Linked DNA regions of Homo sapiens: regions 1 and 3 are each linked to region 2. The links are contacts of gene promoters, found by promoter capture Hi-C in blood cells and fetal thymus (Javierre and others, 2016). All regions are on one chromosome and are shown on one strand. Each heading gives the region's core, a stretch centred on a gene start or on the middle of the fragment in contact. The rest is flanking DNA. Distances are from core to core; before and after follow the strand shown. Region 1 has its middle 300 kb from the start of MIR588. Region 2 holds the start of RSPO3 (R-spondin 3). Region 3 has its middle 300 kb from the start of RSPO3.

Region 1 (3,746 bases), core at 440-2,939, 330 kb after region 2:
ATTGCTCATGCAAAGTTGTGAAGAGGCTGTAGCTATTGCAGTGGCTTTGGAATAAGGAGAAGCAAACCTCAAAAGGTTTGTAGATTTGGAGGAAATTCAGATATGCTTCCATAATTTGGCTGCTTGTCCAAAGCTTATCCGAACTATCTGAACCTTTTAAATCTTCAGAGTTGGCCTGGAAATTTCTGGCTCTTTGTTACTGGACCTGGCTTGGAGCTACATGAGGATGGCCTTTTGTAAAGATTTTTGGCACCTCTGGCTGTGATGCTGCTTATGACAAACTGCAAATAAGAAATTAACAAAGAACAAATGAACTGTAATATTTTAAAACATCAGCAAGAGTTTAGATTTTTGTGAAAACATTTTTTTTAGCACTGAGATACTTTATTGATCTTTTTATAATAGTCTGATAGTAAATAATCATCGCAGTTTATCAAGGACTGAGATGATCAAGGAATGCTCCAGGTAAACTATGATCAGTTAGTCACTATAATATGAACATTTCAACAACAGGCCAAATTCCACCTGAAATTCACAGGAGAATGTAATTGATGACATATATATTAATTGTCTTTTAGTTTATAAATTTATCTGTGTTGATTACTATATAATTAGATCTTTGACCTTGACCAAAGACTTTAAAAGATAACCCTTTTTTTCTACTGGTTCTGTGGTATGAGATACAAACACATTTGCTTTATAAGTGGCTGTATAAAGTCATAATCTTCCATAAAACAAGTGATGATGTTTGAGAAAAAAGAGCAAATAAAAATTTTGGTTTTCATTCTATGTCATAAGCATGAACAAAAATTCCATCTTAATAAAACAAAAAAAACAAAAGAGAAATGATATTTAGACAATTACTCCATGGAGTGTTTTAACATAGCCTCCTAGGCTATGATAGAGTCTGGTAAAGAATAATGGTTGTAAGAATTATAAACTATATCACTATCACTGAACTTTAACTTGCCCCAAAGTGGTATCACTTTAATATTTTCTTAAAACATCGAATTTTCTAGAATTCATGCTTCTTTATTTTAATTTCTTAGTATTTATCAAACAGAACCATGAAATTTCTTTTAAATTGTCTTCAGCAAAAATTCTATTTTTTCTACCCCAATCTTCCTGCTCATTCCTTTCAAAGATACTTTAAATTTCTTCCCTGATGCTATGGCAATAATCTAATTTACTATCCTCACCAAGACACTTTTGAAAATGAAGAGGGTGCTATTAATAATTAAGCTGGGAAAAAGTCATAAATCTGAGACTAACCAGAGCATACACTACAAATGCTCATACAGTGTGCAGTTTACAAAGTGTATGGTCTACAAAAAATGGCTTAAAAAGTATATTGATGACAGGTTTAGAATTTGATTCTGTGTTCCCATGCATACTTTTTTTTTTTTTTTTTTGAGATTGAGTCTTACTCCGTCACCCAGGCTGGAGTGCAGTGGCGTGATCACTGCAAACTCCACCTGCCAGATTCAAATGATTCTCCTGTCTCAGCCTCCCGAGTAGCTGGGATTACAAGTGCCAGCCATGATGCCTGATTAGTTTTTGTATTTTTAGTAGAGACAGGGTTTCACCATGTTGACTAGGCTGGTCTCAAACTCTTGACCTCAGGTGATCCACCATCCTCGGCCTCCCAAAGTGTTGGGATTACAAGTGTGAGCCACCACGCCCGGCCTCCATGCATACCTTTTAAAATTACTAGTGCCCTCCTTTTTCCCATCATCCTCAACCCTCCCACACAACTATAAATTTCTTTTCCTTCCCCATGTCTCCTAAGCTGCTCTTGATACCACAGCTTCTTCAGTTAGCTGGTGTTCTCAGGGAGTGGGGCTGTTCTTCATCTTCCTTCATGGTCTCTGGTCTCTACTTGCTCACTCTCTCTGTATACCTCCCTCCCTGCTTTTTTGCTTTCTATGTGTTCTGTTTCGAAATTCCAGACTTTGGTTATGGTCATGGTACAGTGGAAGAATTATTTTTCTATAACAGTAACATTTCTTTTAATAACCTTTCATTTATCTGGTCTTTAAATACTTCACTTCTTTGTTGATACCTTGTAAATAACTTTTTTTCCCCTTTTCGTGTTCAGTCTCTTCTCTGAAGAAATTAGAATAAACTCTTCAGTTTTGAAGTAGCCTTCCTCTTCCCTCTTTACATGAGAACTACAACCCTGGAGACCTATGAGTCCTAAAGTAGACTTGGCTTTTTTCTCCCAGGGAACCTTAAAACTTACATGGAACCACAACCTGTGGTTGGTTGTCCAGTTTGTAGAGTTCTCTGAGTTAGTATATAAATTAGATTTCTTCCAGTAGCTCCATGATTTAGCAAACAAACAAACACTCCAAAAAATAAATAAATAAAAAACCTTAAAATCAACTCACAATAAAAGAGAAAAAATCATCAATATATTCACTCAAAAAATTTGTTTTTTAAGTGTAGGCATTTGAACAGGAATTTTTAAAAATTTAATTCTAATGACTCACAGCTCCATGATGGCTTTGAGATATGTCATGATTCTTTTTTATTAGCACATAATACGTTAAGAGCCTCTCTCTTTCACCTACATTCATATATGCACACACACTATATCTAAACACATAATGAATAAAACACAGCATGGTGAGTCATATTCCTAGGCCTGTATCCCAGTTCTCCCTTTAAAACATTCATTTATTTAATTTTCTCAACATATGAATCACCTGTGGACATGACAGTGGCTCTATGTTCTGTTATGTATGCCCACTAAAAGCTCCACTCTAGGGGCAACTGATACCACCAGTCCCTCAGCTTTGGGAAGTTCTGAGATGAGATGTAAATCCAGTTGCTTCTCTGCTTTCCCTACTGCTAACTTACGATATGGTTTTCTACAATCTGCCAGGTCTGTTACACTCAGCCATCTGCTTTCTAGCTTCCTAAATATTGTTGCCCTTGTTTTTTCTATTCTTCATCTTTGTGTATCTTTTCATAGTCTTTTGAGTGGGTTTTCTATTGTTAGGATAACTAAATATTTGCATTCAATCCACCATTTTAATGAAGTTTCATCTTAATCTTTGTGGATTTGGGTTTTTTCATCTCTAAATTGGGAAAGGTAGACTTTCTCTAAGGTAACTTCAAAATATCCTAATGCTATAAACTCTAACATGTTGCACAAAATATTTTAAAGCAACTAAATTAACCTCAAAATTAACATTGCATTCATTGGACCCTACATCACACTGCCCATGCAATGAAGCTTCAGTCTAACATTTAAAGCCTTGTGTAATTGGAGTCAATCTCCCTTTAAAAACAGCAGAAACAACAGCAAGAAGAAAACCAATCTTTATTTTTAATTTACTTCAATGCCAATCTTTCTAAGACAATGTAGTTATCTTAATCACTTTTATAATATTGTAAACTGCTATATCCTGAAAGCCTAGCTTAGTTATTGGTCTTTAAATATGTGTTGAATGCAATATACAATAATGAGTGAGATAGGCCACTGTTTAGGGTCATGGGTCTCACCTGATATAGAGGATTTGGTCCTAAAATGAATGATTCAGTTATCTGAAGAAATTCCTGTACCCACAAAATAAGTTATCTATTTACCAGAAGGACCTGGAAATTACTTTTTTGATAAAACTCTATATTTCCAGTTTCTGTTTCTTCATATGAAGAGTAGGAAGGAAGAAGGGGCAAAATACATTTTTTAAATGTGTAAGCTTATCTATAAGAAGAAGGGACAAAAGACATTTGATTTT
Region 2 (3,765 bases), core at 677-3,176:
AAATTTCCATCTCACACAAGCCGGTGTTGTGTCCTCCGCGCTGCCCCGACGTCTGCCCCGAAAGGCTTCCCGGGCGGGACGCTGGGAGAGGGATCCCCTTGGGAAACCAGGTGGGGCCGCTGGGCCTGGGCTGCACGCCGCGGAGGTGCGAGAGCCCAGAGCAGCAGCATCGCTTCCTGCCCCTCGCGAGCTCCAGGAGAAGTTTCCTCCTCCCTCTCTCCACCAGCGCCCCCAACCATAGAGCCAGGGTCGCCCCTGCTCTGAGATCTGCGAAAGGACTCCCCATGGGAACACAGACACTAGAGCAGCGAGGGCGCCAGGCTACCCTGGAGCGAGGAGAGGTGACACCTTCGCATCTGTCCCTTCATCTTGGGAAGATTCTACCTTTCAGACAGACCAACCCAGGTTGAGGCTGCCGTGGTGGTGTCCGCTTAATTCCAGCTAGGACACCGTCTTAAGAAGCCATCACAATCCAACCCTCCAAATAACAGCATTAAGGGCAGCGAGGAGGCGAATCTTTAGGGAGACCCCACTCTCTGTACGTGTGTGTCCCAGGGGACACACTTGAAAGGGCCAGAGATGGTACAGACGCTCACATGTGACAAGAGAGAACCTGGAAACTCCGCACCTCCGGCTCCCCACAGCTGGGGTTTTGCTGTCTTCAACCCTCGGGCGGGGGACGTCCGGCAGCTCTGCAAACGCGCAGACACGCGAACCCCATCGCCTCGCGCGCCCTTTGGCTCCGCTGGTGCGTGTCGGGGATGCGGCCGCGCAGGCGCTCGCTCCCTGGCTTCCTGGCCGGGTAGCGGGCGTTCGGCTACCGGAGTCCAGCCTAAGGGCCCAGCCGAGGTCTCCCCGCGCGAGGCGGTTGCGCTAGGTGAGCGGGTACCGCGGCCGCGCCTCCCTTGTCATTTACTCAGCGGTCAGAGGCATCCTGCGTCTGGGAGTCCCAAGTGCCTTCGGCTGGGTGCCCCTGTCCGATCCTCAAAAGGAAAGCACAAATCCCGGGTGCGAGTCTAACCCAGGACCGAACTTTCCCGCGAACCTGAAGTTACCATGGGGCGGGAGCCACCTTAGCGCCGCGTCCGCCCGCCCCTCGCACCGGCTAGGATGCTGCGGAAGGCAGGGGCGCCGAGAGGCAAGGGTGAAAGACGCCGTCCATACCCCCAAAGCCCGAACCTGCATCTCCTCTGCGAGGCGCAGGGCGGGAGGACCGCTGCAGTTGGGAGCCGGCTCCGGACAGGCAAAGCGACCCGACAGGTGAACGCGGCGGGAGGGAGCAAACGCGTAAAAAACCCTGCACTTACTTCTTCGCTGGCGCCTTCCCCGGGAGGCGTTTTGGCTGCCGATGTATTCCATAAAGTTCAAAATGATAAAAAGCCAAGAAATCAGTCGCAAGTGCATAGTAACCCAGTAATGCTTCCCTTCCTTTCTCCTCTTTCTTTTGATTGTTAATTATATTTAATGTTTTTAAAATATATGTAGGTGTTAGGCGTATATAGACAGTGCCCGAGCAGCGGGACTTCTCCTCTCACATCCGATAGGCGTGCTGTGATGGCAAGCGAAGTGGGGCGGGTGGACAGGGAAACCAACTATTGTACTTTCAAATTATCCAAGCACTGAACTGCGGCGGCTTCGCTGGGGTGGCTGGCATCGCCGCGAACCGGGGTTCCAGGAGCCGCCGGGGCGGCCGCAGGTAGCATGTTGTGCGGCAACTGCCGCAGGCGGGATCCGGGCGGGCGAGCGGCGGCGGCGGCGGCTGCAGCGGCGGCCCCTTGGGCTCAGAAGCTGCGGCGGCTGCGGCTGCAGCGGCGGGGGCCCCTGGAGCGCAGGGGAGCGGGCGCCGTCGGCACAGCGGCCATGGCCAAGGGGCGGCGGAGAGACCCCGAGCTGCTTCTGGCGTGCGCGAGCAGGAGACGCTCCAGTGTTGGGCTGGGCTCCCGGGAGCACCACATAGGGGAGGAGGAGGAGGAGGGCAGGGAGGGGGGAGGGAGAGGAGGGCAGGGAGGGGGAGAGGAGGGGGGATGGCTGTGGGGGGCGGGGGGGAGCTCGGGGGCGGGGAAGGAAACTGCTGGAGCAACAACCCTGAGCGACCTCAATAACTTTCAATTTCAAGAGGGAAAGAGGGAGCTGGAAAAGTACAGGCGTTGCGCTTTGGCAGAGGGACGGGAAGAGGCGCCTAAGGGGTCCCGGGTCTACAGCGCAGCATCTCTGGACACTGCAGTGACGGCCGGAGAATTCCAGCCAGAAGAATGGGGAAAGCAGTGCGTGCGAAGAGCCCCTCCAGAAGGGCAGCTCTGGCGGGGAGACTTGGGCGCACTGGGGCTGGCAGGCAGTGTTGAGGCCGAAGACCCCCCACCCATCCCAGTTCGGCTCCTCTCCGCGGCCTCAAGCTAGGCGCACCCGGCTGTCGGTGGCCGTGCGCCCCTGCGCCCTTGTGCCCCAGCGCCCCCACCCCATCCCCAGCGCCGGCGCGCAACTACCCTCTCCCCCTTGGCAGATCGCTGGAGAGTTTCTGGCTGCTGACTTGTTCCCGGCTTTCCTGACCTTCTCCTCTGTTGCCTTTCTCCCTTTTTCTTTTTCTCTCTCTTTCTTTCTTTCTTTCTTTCTTTCTTTCTTTCTTTCTTTCTTTCTTTCTTTCTTTCTTTCTTTCTTTCTTTCTCTTTCTTTCTTTTCTTTCTTTCTTCCTTCCTCTTTCTTTGTCTTTCTTTCTTTCTTTCCTTCCTTCCTTCCTTCCTTCCTTCCTTCCTTCCTTCCTTCTTCTTTCTTTCTTTCTTTCCTTTCTTTCTTTCTTTTCGGCTGCAGTTGGTCGCCAGGCGGGTGGTGGGGAGGAAACTCTGTGGGTGCTGCCGGTCAGCTACTCTGAGGTTTACCTGCTCCGAGCGGGGAGGACCCAGAAGTGTGTGCGCTCAGGACCTTCCCGTTGGAAATGCAGCTGTGCTACGGCTTTCTTCCAAACCAAGGCTTTTCTGTGGCTTTGGAAGATTCCTTTCCCGCTCAGGCAATTCCCTCTATAGTCAGCTCGCCCCCCTTGGAGTTTTCTCTCCCACCCTCGGTCTCCCAGTGTTCTTGAGAGGATCTGTTGTACATTCTAATCTCGCATCTGGAAGACTGGGAATAAGATTTGGAAAGATTTTCCCAGTCTTGGGGAAGGAAGGGGAAGGTCCACTACTTTCTTATCTTCCCAGCCCAAGTGGAGGCCCAAGGCAGCAGAGAGTAAGATGCTCTGGCCCACCCAGGGATGGGAGAACAGAGGGCCGGCACCCCTGAGTGGGGCACACCCTGGCTGTCGTTAGTAAATGGTGAGCTTTCCACGTCTTTTCTCCGGTAGCACCAGCCGATGAACTTTTCAGTAATTACTGAAGAAGTATTTAGTCGAAAGTCACAAGCCTCAAGTGATTTTAACATAAGCCTGCCCTATGTATTATATTTAACAGAATATCTGAAGGACTACACTAGCACTACAGGTTAACACAGCAGCAAACTTCTGGGAGGTCACTTTGAAAGAGTCCCTGATTCATAGGTGCTTTGCTAATTTTTGTGCTCAAATAATTCAGTGTAAGTCAATTGCTAAAGCCTTGCAGAGTAGCAAGTGACACTTGCACTTCTATCTCCTTCCTCCATTTGTAATCCCTATTACTGGATTGCCTTCAATTTATGTAAATTAGGTAAATTTACATGAATTAGAGCATTTTGTAAGTTTGCAATGCTGTGAATTGTATGTCTCTGGAGTCCTTTAGTGGTATATTTGTTATACATCCCAAA
Region 3 (4,220 bases), core at 536-3,035, 300 kb after region 2:
GTTGGTATAGAATGCTTTATAGCTACAATGTGAATTTTCTTTAAAATCAAAATCTTCTCATGTTAAAAAATATACTCTGCAATCAATCTTTTCTACTTCTAGAAACGTAACTAAGGAAATGATCTGAAGTATCAAAATATTATGCACAAAATATATATCTAATTTTAATATTAAGCACAAAAATATAGGGATATAAACTGTTTATTATTAAAAATAGAAAATGTTGAAATAAATCAAATCATGGAATGAAAATTTATACTACAGGTATTATGAACCATAAGAATAATTATGTAATATAAAAATTGTTATAATATAATATTTATGATATATACGTACATATATACACATACATACATATATATTTGATGAACACATACACTCTCTATTCATTCCAAACATACTGGAAAAAATTCCAAAGTTATAGTTATCTTTGTATGGTATACGATTTCATTTTTTCTTCCTTTTGTTTTTAGGCATTTTTCAAATTGCTACAATTAGCAGATGTTACTTAGAAAAACAAAATATCTCCAGTAAATTTTCATTTTTCACAATTGGATTTTTCTACATGGAATACAACTTCTTTAATATGCTTTTTGAACAATTTTATATTTTTCTTTTGTCGAACCACTAGAAAGTTTTTGGTTTCACTGCTGAATTTTTGAGGTTAATATAATAGAAGTGTGACAGCTGTACCCTCAGACAGACTTGCCCTAGCATCTCTCAGATGCAGAATCTCTTCATGACAGGAAGTGGACCTGTTTGAGCTTGCGTGGTATCTCTTAAAATTCATGTGTTCTTTCACTTTATTTTTATTTCTTGATGGAGCAAAGGAGATATGAGAGAGAGATTGATGGAGACAGGGAGAGAGAGACTGATGGAGGCAGGGAGAGAGAGATTGGGGGAAAGGCAGGAGATGGACTGAAGTAGAAAGGACAAAGAAAGAGCTGATTGCAACAGCTGCTTTGCTTATCTGAAAGTTTTAACTTGACTCTTGTTCACATCCCAGGTGACCAGCTAATAAAAATAATTTAAGCTTTAACAAAACAAGGATAATTTATACTGTGGAAACTGTAGTCTGGCACTTGTATCAGCACTAGAAACAAGATTTCTGAAAATTCCTTAGGGGAATGGAACTAGCAGGGACATAGAATTTAATAACAGCTTTCTTTTCACCCAGCCACCTCATCTCACCTCCCACCCTCTGCTGCCAACTCAACATCAACATCATCATCTTGAAGCAAATTTATACAGTTTTCCGTTTCATTGTTGGATTCTCCATGTTATTTTTAAAGCAATTCTAAAATCATTTCTTCTATACATGAAAATATTTTAAAAATTCAAACCTGAATGGTTTTCAATAAAATTATTGCTACCACAAATCTACAAGTATTCAAGAGACCTTGTTTAAGCAGAACTAATTCAATTTTTAAACTAGAATATGTATTGCATATTTTATAAAATTATACTTTTCTTGGAAAAAAGGTTAAATGTCTCACAAAAAGGGAAGATTTTATTATTTTTTCATCCCTGTTGAATTAGAGTGAAATTAATTTGCTAAATGAAAAGCTACTGTCATCTAACATATTTTACAAAATGAACATACACATGGAGATTAATCAAAAAAAGCACGGCACCAGCTTCATAACAGTGTCATGCTTAAAATGAACTTACATTTTTATTCCGCCTTGAGGATACACAGATTGTTTTGTTTTAATGGCTTCCAGCCATCTCTATTATATAGCATAAATCCTCAAAGGGGGAAAGCAGATTTTAATCCTCAAAACAACATGTATAGGGAAAGAGTTTAAAAGTGCTGATTAAGCAAATGTTGTTGGTTTAGTCTATCTATTTCACATTTGTGTTTAAGTCATTGTGGAACAAATATTTAACTATTGGAGTAATTGTCTGGACATTATTTCAAACTTGGGTGAATCTTGGGCATCTCTAAGGTTGCATTTTAAATGACAGTCATCACCGGTTTAAAGGAATTCCTTGGCAGAATTGCTAAGCGAGAAATGAACTCTGGTATTGGAAGGCTATAAGTTCAACATATTATTAAAAACTCAGAATCAGATAAAAGTTCTTGGAGGCATATGAGCTTCCGTTGGTAGGCAACTTGTCTTTCTCTGCATTCCCAACTGCTGAATTTAGAGTGAGAGACAGAAGGTGAAGCCATGTTTTGTCACATAGCTACTGTGTGACCTTCATTAAGTCAATTTATCTTTCTGATCCTCTATTTCTTTATTAGTAAAATGGAAGTTATAATAATTGTGTTGTCTAATTCATGAGGCTGGTCTAATATTAAATGAAAATAATTCATAGAAAATCATTTTATAGCAGCAAACAATAGAGAAAAATTCATTCACTATATAAAAGGTGAATAAATGTGCATTTGTGCAGTATATTTTATGGATACTTGATAAGGAAGAAGAAAGTTGGAATTCTGATTTGGAGTTACAATATCTGGGTTCGAATTCAAGCATTGAAAATAACTAGTTCTGTTATGAGGAGCATGTCAATTCATGAATTTAAGCTTCCATTTTTCTATAGTGAAGTTAATAGTAATACTTGCCTATTAGGTTATCTGGAGATCCAATGACCTCACATATATAAAAACATTGTATAATCTTACCGTTATTGTCATTTTGTTTCAAAAATTCACTTTTCATGGTAAAAGACTAAGATAATTTCTATCCCAACGTGGACCTCAGGAAAATAGATTTGGCTTCATACCTTCCCTCTTTTAAGTTTAAATTACACCTCCTTGCAAATTAATTTCCTTTGGAAGCTATAAATTTTCATCCAGAATTTCGCATTTTGTTTAATCTTCTTCTCTATATGTGGTGGCAGAATAGTTTTAGATTATTTTATTTATTTAATTCCCAAAAATAACTTAAGAAAATACAGTAACTAACAAAATTATGTTAATGGACTAAAGAATTGGCAGAGCAGAAGAATCTGTGAGAACATTGTGTGTCTCCTGGGATCCTATCCCCAAAACAGCTTGATCCAAGAGAAAGAGGCCTGGATGGAGGTAGGGGGCTGAGGTCAACTGGATTCTAGCTTTGAATTTTATGTGAAGCCTCTGAGAATTTTTTTTTTTTTTTTTTTTTTTTTAGATGAAGTTTCGCTCTTCTTGCCCAGGCTGGAGTGCAATGGCACAATCTCAGCTCACTGCAACCTCTGCCTCCTGGGTTCAAGCGATTCTCCTGCCTCAGCCCCCTGAGTAGCTGGGATTACAGGTATGCACCACCACACTCAGCTAATTTTGTATCTTTAGTAGACAGGGTTTCTCCATGTTGGTCACTCTGGTCTCGAACACCCAACGTCAGGTGATCTGCCCACCTCAAACTCAAAGTGTTGGGATTACAGGCATGAGCCACCGCTCACCTGGCGACTTTTTTTTTTTTTCCTATTTGTAAACCATGAGAATTAGAGTAAATGGCACATAAGACTTGTCTTGCTTGATGCTTGAACATTTTCTCTAGTTCTTAAAGTCTAAGCAATTTGTGGATGCTTAAGGGTAGAAGGGCTCTGATCATTACCTGTTGGTCAGTACAATTCAGCCAGAAGCCAGAGCTATTTGATTAGGAGTTAAAAGTGTTGTAGCTACTGTTTGATCATGTTTTGGTTTTGACCTTAGATAATTTACTGTTCATTTCTGCTTAGAAACGTACAGTTATTTAATAGTACCCTCATGCTAAGGAAAAGCTCATGTAGATTTCAAGGAAACTCTTCTTAGTCCTAGACAGTAACTTATGTTCTGGAAGAATGTGGTTCCGTAAGTATGAATTAGTGAAGATAAAATAGGGGTCCTCAACTTTATACCTTTTACAATGGGAAAGATTTATTTTATGGTATTTGTCTATCATAAATTATTATTATTATTATTGTTATTATTATTATTATTAGAGATGGAGTTTCACTCTTGTTGCCCAGGCTGGAGTGCAATGGCACGATTTCAGCTCACTGAAACTTCTGCCTCCCAGGTTCCAGCGATTCTTCTGCCTCAGTCTCCTGAGTAGCTGGAATTACAGGCTCCCACCACTACACCTGGCTATTTTTTTAGATTTTTAGTAGAGACGGGATTTCACTATGTTGGGCAGGCTGGTCTCGAACTCCTGACCTCATGGTCCACCTGCCTCGGCCTCCCACAGTGCTGGGATTACAGGGGTATCATAAATTATTTCGAATCTTTGAGAGCAAAATATATATGTGCC

What was found. Contacts are between HindIII fragments. The CHiCAGO score rates a contact against its expected background, and 5 or more counts as called.
Region 1: a fragment that was not itself captured here is called in contact with the fragment with the promoter of RSPO3 in region 2 in 2 of 17 cell types (M2 macrophages and endothelial precursors); the score reaches 5.9 in M2 macrophages.
Region 3: a fragment that was not itself captured here is called in contact with the fragment with the promoter of RSPO3 in region 2 in 1 of 17 cell types (M2 macrophages); the score reaches 5.6 in M2 macrophages.

What each region holds. Positions count from the first base shown.
Region 1 is chr6:126,785,340-126,789,085 of GRCh38, reverse strand. No RefSeq gene overlaps it. Among named protein-coding and RNA genes, the nearest start is that of MIR588, 300 kb to the right of the region's middle. The HindIII fragment of the contact is 3,108 bases long and covers 136-3,243 here.
Region 2 is chr6:127,116,832-127,120,596 of GRCh38, reverse strand. It overlaps RSPO3 (R-spondin 3), which reads right to left and starts at 1,926. Exons shown (of 5, transcript NM_032784.5): 1 at 1,308-1,926. The coding sequence starts at 1,404. It overlaps LOC105377989 (a long non-coding RNA gene), which reads left to right. Exons shown (of 14, transcript XR_002956387.2): 4 at 1-1,696. The HindIII fragment of the contact is 5,242 bases long and covers 1-3,765 here.
Region 3 is chr6:126,818,414-126,822,633 of GRCh38, reverse strand. No RefSeq gene overlaps it. Among named protein-coding and RNA genes, the nearest start is that of RSPO3, 300 kb to the left of the region's middle. The HindIII fragment of the contact is 1,500 bases long and covers 1,036-2,535 here.